Linked DNA regions of Homo sapiens: region 2 is linked to region 1. The links are contacts of gene promoters, found by promoter capture Hi-C in human tissues and cell types (Jung and others, 2019). All regions are on one chromosome and are shown on one strand. The core of a region is centred on a gene start or on the middle of the fragment in contact, and the rest is flanking DNA. Distances in the headings are between cores, read along the strand shown. Region 1 holds the start of MRPS2 (mitochondrial ribosomal protein S2). Region 2 overlaps RXRA (retinoid X receptor alpha).

The links. The method cuts DNA at HindIII sites, captures the fragments that hold promoters and counts their contacts. A contact is called where the count stands out against the background at its distance.
Region 2: a fragment that was not itself captured here is called in contact with the fragment with the promoter of MRPS2 in region 1 in 1 of the 25 tissues and cell types used here (dorsolateral prefrontal cortex).

The regions. Positions count from the first base shown.
Region 1 is chr9:135,499,356-135,502,470 of GRCh38, reverse strand. It overlaps MRPS2 (mitochondrial ribosomal protein S2), which reads right to left and starts at 1,789. Exons shown (of 4, transcript NM_016034.5): 1 at 1,718-1,789; 2 at 1,348-1,473; 3 at 498-627. The coding sequence starts at 1,760. It overlaps PIERCE1 (piercer of microtubule wall 1), which reads left to right and starts at 2,602. Exons shown (of 3, transcript NM_001048265.2): 1 at 2,602-2,762. The coding sequence starts at 2,620. RefSeq lists an enhancer at 940-1,564 and silencers at 1,520-1,679, 1,890-2,059, 2,330-2,499. The HindIII fragment of the contact is 18,925 bases long and covers 1-3,115 here.
Region 2 is chr9:134,406,727-134,409,988 of GRCh38, reverse strand. RXRA (retinoid X receptor alpha) reads right to left here. Exons shown (of 10, transcript NM_002957.6): 3 at 1,690-1,840; 4 at 870-1,049. Among named protein-coding and RNA genes, the nearest start is that of MIR4669, 29 kb to the right of the region's middle. RefSeq lists enhancers at 496-1,307, 1,308-2,120, 2,121-2,933, 2,735-3,204. The HindIII fragment of the contact is 8,028 bases long and covers 1-3,262 here.

The sequences.
Region 1 (3,115 bases), core at 540-3,039:
CCTGCTGCTCCAGCTCTTCCGCTACTGCGATTTAAGCCCCGCCACCTTCACCCTGAACGCCCACACCAACCTCCTCCCTGGCCTCCCACCTGCCCCTCCCATCCCCTCCCCCCACAGCAGTCAAAATGACCATGTGAGAATACAGGACCAGTCATTCCTCCTCCCCGCAGCCCAGAAGGCCCAGCCCGATCCGGGGGGACCAACCTTACAGGTTCTGCCCTCAGCCTTTCCATTTCTGAACCCGTGGAGTCCTGCAACCCCCAGCAGGCCTGCCCTATCAAGGGCTGTGAGCGCCACACCAAGGCACACAAGAGCGTCCGCCAAGCTGAGGAATAAACTCCTGCTTCTCTGTGGGGCTCTGTATTCCCATGTGGAGGAGGATGGGGCTGTAATCACCTAAAACTGACATAGGCCAGTTCAAAAGTGGCCCTAGAACCAGAGCAGGTCCCAGGTTCCTCCTGGGAACCGCCCCGGGCTCAGATGGGGGTGTCACCTACCTGTGCCGACAGCCAGCTTTGTGTCCCAGATGGACTCGGGCATCGAAGAGGCTTCTCACGGAAAACAGTTCCTTGACATTGAAGAAGTCAGAGTGCTTGAGGGGCTCATTCAAAATCTTGTCGTTGAAATCTACGGCAGGGAGGAGGAGCGACGCTGCGTCTCCCACCGGTGGCAGCAGAGACAGGCAGAGCGCAGTTCCCGCCCACCCCTGCTCCCAAGTGCCTTCTGTGACACCGAGGTGGGGAGCCGGGAGCCCAGCAGCCCCAGGAAAGACCTGGAAGCACAGGGACCTTTTCAGGAAACAGAGGGCTGGAGCCAGGTTCTGATCCCGACCTTGCTCCTGGGTAAGCCTGGTCGAACCTGGTCAACCCCGTCCCTTGGTCTTACTTGGAAGACAGAGGAGAAAAAGAGAGGGGCCCAGCGGGTTGCTCAGGTCTTTCTGGCACCTCCCCGCCTTGTGGTCTCAGGTGGCCAGCCAGAAAGTCCCCATCAGGAGTCCAGCAAGGTGGGCAGACTCCAAGCCCAGTGCCCCCAGGTCACTTGGGCCCGCCTGGGCGAGCTCGGGGCTCCGGGCCTCGGTGGTCCAGTGACACCCCCCTAGGGAGCGAAGCCTGTGCTAACCACTGGCCCGCCCGCTCCCTCTCACCCTATCCATGGTGAGGCGGTGGCCTCAGCCCGCTGTGCTACGTCAGGCAGGACCGAGCGGCGGCGAGCACGGGAGTGGGAGGAGCCCAGCGGAGCGCGCAGTTTCGACCGCGTGCAGCGCCCAGGCCCCTCTAGGGTTCGCATCCCCCGCGGCTGCCGGCCTCTCCTCGTTCCCACCCAACTCGGCTGGGCGCCCAGTGTTACCGGTGCTGTCCTCCGACTCGCGGATCATAAGGGCCGTCGCGCTTCCAAGCGTCCTGCGGCTCGGCCGAGCAGGCCGGGGGGTCGCCTTCCCGAGAAAGCCCAACCAGCGCGACGGGGCCCGGGCACCTGGGGGGAAGTAGATAGAGGTCCTGGCGCCGAGTCCCGAATGCACCACGCCCGCTCCCCACCGCATCCCCAACGGGCCCCTCCGCGTCCCTAACGGGTCCCCTCCGCGTCCCCGCGCCCTCCCCGAGTCCCCTCCGCGCTCGCCCCGGGTCCCCTCCACGTCCCCGCCGCTCCATCGGGTCCCCGCGCCCCTCCGCATCCTCCTCGCATGCTCCTCCCCAGGGTCCCGCAAGCGCGCGCTCACCCGCGCCGAGTATTCGGGGCAGCGCGGCCGAGGATGTCGCCATGGCTGGGACGCGGGGCAGAGCGAGGTCTCCCTCCAGGCCAGGCCGAGCGGCCTCCCCTTCCGTCGCCATCCGCGCGGGGCCGCAGTGCCGCCTACAGGCCCGGAGGAGCCACAGCGCTGTCCCCAGGCGGCTGGGACCTCCCTGCGGGGGCGGGGCACGCGAGGGGTCAGGGCCCGGGGTCCTGGGCTTGAGAGTCTCGGGCGGGGAGTGGAGCCACGGTCCTCGCCCTGCAGCTCGCCCCGCCCTGCTAATGGGACCGGCCAGCCCGGGAGGCCCCTGACCCTTGGGGAAGCCCGCTGGGCGATGGGGACCCTCGCCTCCCGCCAAGTGAGCTGTGAACCACGTCCTGCGCAACCTCTCGCTCTCCAAAACTGTTTGTAATATTTAAACGATATTTGGCTTAGGAGAATTTCATAAAGTTAGCCAGATCTCGGGTCTCAATTTAGACTCGGGGTGCTGGGGGGCATAGCATCCCTGGAGTACATTGGACAGCAAAAGTCCAATCGTTGCCTGCCGAGTGGACCTGCAGTGCTTAAACCCCGTCACCCGGCTGGCGGGGTCCCAGGCCCTGGGGTTTCTTTCGCCCGGGAGTCCACGCCCTGATGCTGGGGTGGCCCGGTCCCCCCGCGGGTGGCTGGGGGCCTGGGGCTGCCTCACACGACGGTCCCAGCAGGGAATCTCTCGCCGTCCCGACCTTCCCGGCCCTTGGGGAGTCGCCCGGCAGGTTCCGGACCCACCCGCAGAGGAACCCGGCCCACGCGCGGCGCCTTTAAGGCCCCTCCGCTCGCTCCCCAGTCACGTGACCTGGCCGTCGCTTGGCAACAGGACGCCGCCGAGTCCCGCTTCTCCTCCAGGCACAATGGCTGAGGAATGCCCCAGAGCGTGCGCGGAGCCTGTGGCGCCCAAGGCCACGGCCCCGCCGGAGAGGACCAGCGACTACTACCGCGTGAGCGCGGACCTGCCGGGCAGGTTCAACAACCCGGGGTGGTTCCGGGGCTACAGGTGAGGAAGCTGGGGCCCGCCTGGTCCTGGCGTCCACTGCTCGATAGCCCCGTGTGTGAGAGACCCCGCAAGACCCCCAAGGTCCTAGCTACAGAAATCAAGAAGATCGAGTGGTCATCCGGGGCCCGCGCTGTCATCGCCCGCCAGTGAGCGGCGACCGTGCTCCCTAGAGCCTCATACAAGGAAGTGGGGATAAGGGCAGTGGGGGGCAGGGCCGTGGGGGGAGAAAGCCCAGTTGTGGTCTCAGCTCCACTGATTTGTGTCGGGTGAGTCTCCTCTCCTCTCTACCCTGAAACTCCGCTGCGGGGCGTGAGCACAGCAGCACCTCCACTGTCTTGCTGTAGACTCAGCCA
Region 2 (3,262 bases), core at 610-3,109, 1.1 Mb after region 1:
TGGCGGGGAGGAAGTAAGACACACCAGCCACACAGGTGTTGGGCCTCAGGAGCAGCACAGCAGAGGACAGAGGAAGGGTGTCCTGCAGAGCGGGGGGACAGGGACAGACCAACAGATCTTCACCCCAGACAGCACCTCCCACCTCCACAAGGCCCAGGGCACGGGACCCGATGGGAGGAACTGAGGCACACCCCCAAACGTGTGTGCAAACCATGACCCAGGGACCCACTAAGAGGCCAGGAATCGCCAAACCTGAGAGGGAAAGGGGATGTGACAGATGGGGAAACTGAGGACTACAGCCAGCCAGGACTGGGAAGTCACAGTGCCTGTGGGGCCCGGGACTCCGACCCAGGTCTGGCTGGATGACTTGACAATTTTGGTGACATCGGGGGAGGGACTTCCCTGCAAACCGCCCCGACACAGATTTGTTAATAAGACGAGCACAAAAACAAAAGGAAAGGAGGAACTGCTCCAAGAGCCTGGGGGCCATCCGGCGGCCCTGCGGGGTGCCACAGAGTTGGCCTCGGGAGGAAGCTGGCCCGGGACCACCCCTGGCATCCAACAGCTCAGAAGATGCCCCCGCTCCACCTCTCCAACCTAAGCAGTGCCACCTGAGGGTCTCCTTGACCATCCCCTCACCGGACAGCCAACGCCAGCCAGAACATGCCGCCCAGGACCCATGTGTGCCCACGCTCTGGGCCGCACGTGTGCCCACGCGCTGGGCCCCGCCCCCACTCCTGCCTTGGCCTTGCCATGCTTCTGTCCAGGCCACTCACTCCCTGTTGTCCATCTCGGGTGTCCACGCACAAGCCCGGGCCCCACTGTTTGTCCAACACCTGCCCGCGCCCCCACCCGACGCCGTGGCCTACCTTCCCGCTTCATGCCCATGGCCAGGCACTTCTGGTAGCGGCAGTACTGGCACCGGTTCCGCTGCCGCTTGTCAATCAGGCAGTCCTTGTTGTCGCGGCAGGTGTAGGTCAGGTCCTTGCGCACCGTCCGCTTGAAGAAGCCCTTGCACCCCTCGCAGCTGTACACTCCATAGTGCTTGCCTGCGGGACAGGGCAGAGCAGGGCTGGGGAGCACCCACCGCCCCGGCAGGGAGCCCACCCCCCATCCAACGCCGCCACTACCAGCTGGCGGGCCAGGCCTCAGAAAGGGACCTGCTGGTCTCCAGACCCCTGCCTGGGCTCAGACTGGGCCCCAGCCTCACTCTCTCTGCTCCTCCGAGGACAGCTTAGGAGTGGGGCAGGGACAAATCCCAGCCCACCAGGGACCAGGGCCCCAGGCAAGTCACCTGCTCTGTGTCTGCACTGTGCAGCCCGTTCTTCCCTCTCAGGCCGTTGGGGGTCAGTGGCACAACACGGGCCCCTTGCCCAGACCCAGCCAAGGGAGGAGGCGCAGCACTGGCTGCCCCCATGCTGACCTTGCCATCAGCAGCCACCTCCTCTCCGGAAGCCTCAGGCTGCCCTGTGCCCCACCCCACCCAACACTCACTGTCCCACAGACGTGAGAACCCTGGAATGGCCTCGCGGAGCCCTGGGAGTGGGGCATGGCCCAGGCACCTGCCTCCCTGCACCCTGGCCTTGGGTCCTGCTTGGCCCACAGGAGGGTGATTTGGGGAGGCCTCCAGACCCTGCAATGGCCTGACAACCCTGTCCCACCAGCCCCTGGCCCCCACAGCAGCGGTACCTGAGGAGCGGTCCCCGCAGATGGCGCAGATGTGCTTGGTGAAGGAAGCCATGTTTCCTGAGGGGTGGGCGGGGACCTTGAGGACGCCATTGAGGCCCAGGGGGGGCTTGATGTCCTCGCTGCTGCTGACGGGGTTCATAGGTGAGCTGAGCTGGGGGGGGCAACCACAGCAGTCAGCGGGGTGTACACCAGGTTTGTCCCTATGTCCCCCACGGCCCTGCAGCAAGGATGGCGCAGCTGTACCCCCAACTTCACACACAGACACCGAGGCTAGAGAGGGCCGTGCCCCCCACCCGCCACGCTGCTCCGGAGCAGCGGGGCCACTGTGCTTGCTCAGCAAGGCCAGCAGAGGCTGTGGCAACCTCAGGACTCGCCCGCAGCAGACCCCAGGCCTCTGTGGAAAAGGACCTTCAACACCCCCCCCAACACATGGGCGGTCCCTGCTTGCAACCCCCTGCCCGCTGCCCACCTAAATGAGAGCTGCCTCTCATTACTGAGCCCCTGGCAGTGCCCAGCCCCGCTGGGTGCCCCCGGACACTCCATGAGGCAGGCACTCTGGGGGGTCCCAACCCACACATGAGGACGCCGAAGCCCAGTTCCCAGGACGGAGGAGGGCTGGGGACCCCCCCAAGAACCACACATACACCCCACAACACCGCAGGGCAGGGGCCCTGGTCACGTGACCCAGGAGAGGGGAGTGGACACCCCCGGGCATCGGGTGGCACGACACCACTGGCCTCTCTGCACACCCCTCCGCCCCACCCGCCGGCCCGCACGCTGCCGCCCGGGCAAGCGTGGGAAACTCACCCGGTCACCCTGGCAACAGCTGCAGCGTGCAGTGACACAGCAGTTTTGGTTCCGCTGCCTCCACCCAGCTCTGCAGTCAGCGCCGAGGACCCACAGGCGCTTCCCGCTGCAGCCTGCCAGCCAGCCTGGCTGCGCAGGGCGGTAAGCGCTTGGCCAGGCAGCCCCCAGCCTCCACTTCTGCAAACCCCTGCCGCCGCTTGTGCGCAGGAAGCTCCCCTCCTTCCTTCCTCAGGCCTCCAAATCCCATCCCCCCTTCTCACGGGACAGGAAGAGTTTGAGGCTCAATGCAAGCAAAGCAGAAACCACCGCAAAGCCTCCTTTCACATGGACCTCGGTGCCTGGAATGAGTCTTCCAGCCCCAGCTTGTTCTGGCTTCTAGGTTCTTCCTCGATCTGCCCAGGTGGGCTGTGAGGCTTTACAAGGATGCTTGGTCCCTGCAGGACTCAGGTGGGCTGCGAGAGGCCAGGAGGTCCCCCGTGACAACTCAGCACAGTGGGGGTGCCATGAAGCTCCCACTGGAGAAGCGGGTGGCCACTGTGTGACTCACCAAATGCCCAGTGTTCATGTCCACAGGCAGCAGGTGCGCTTCTCAGAGAAGGGAGGGAACTGAAGGGGCAAGAGAAAGCCCCAGACGTCTGCAGAGGGGTGCGGTGCCTGGGCTTTGCACCCACACTTGACACTCCCTGCATGGGAAACCCTGGGTGTCCCAGATGCAGAGGCTGCGGCTCAGGGAGGTCAGGGGCTGGCCAAGGTCACACATGATCCC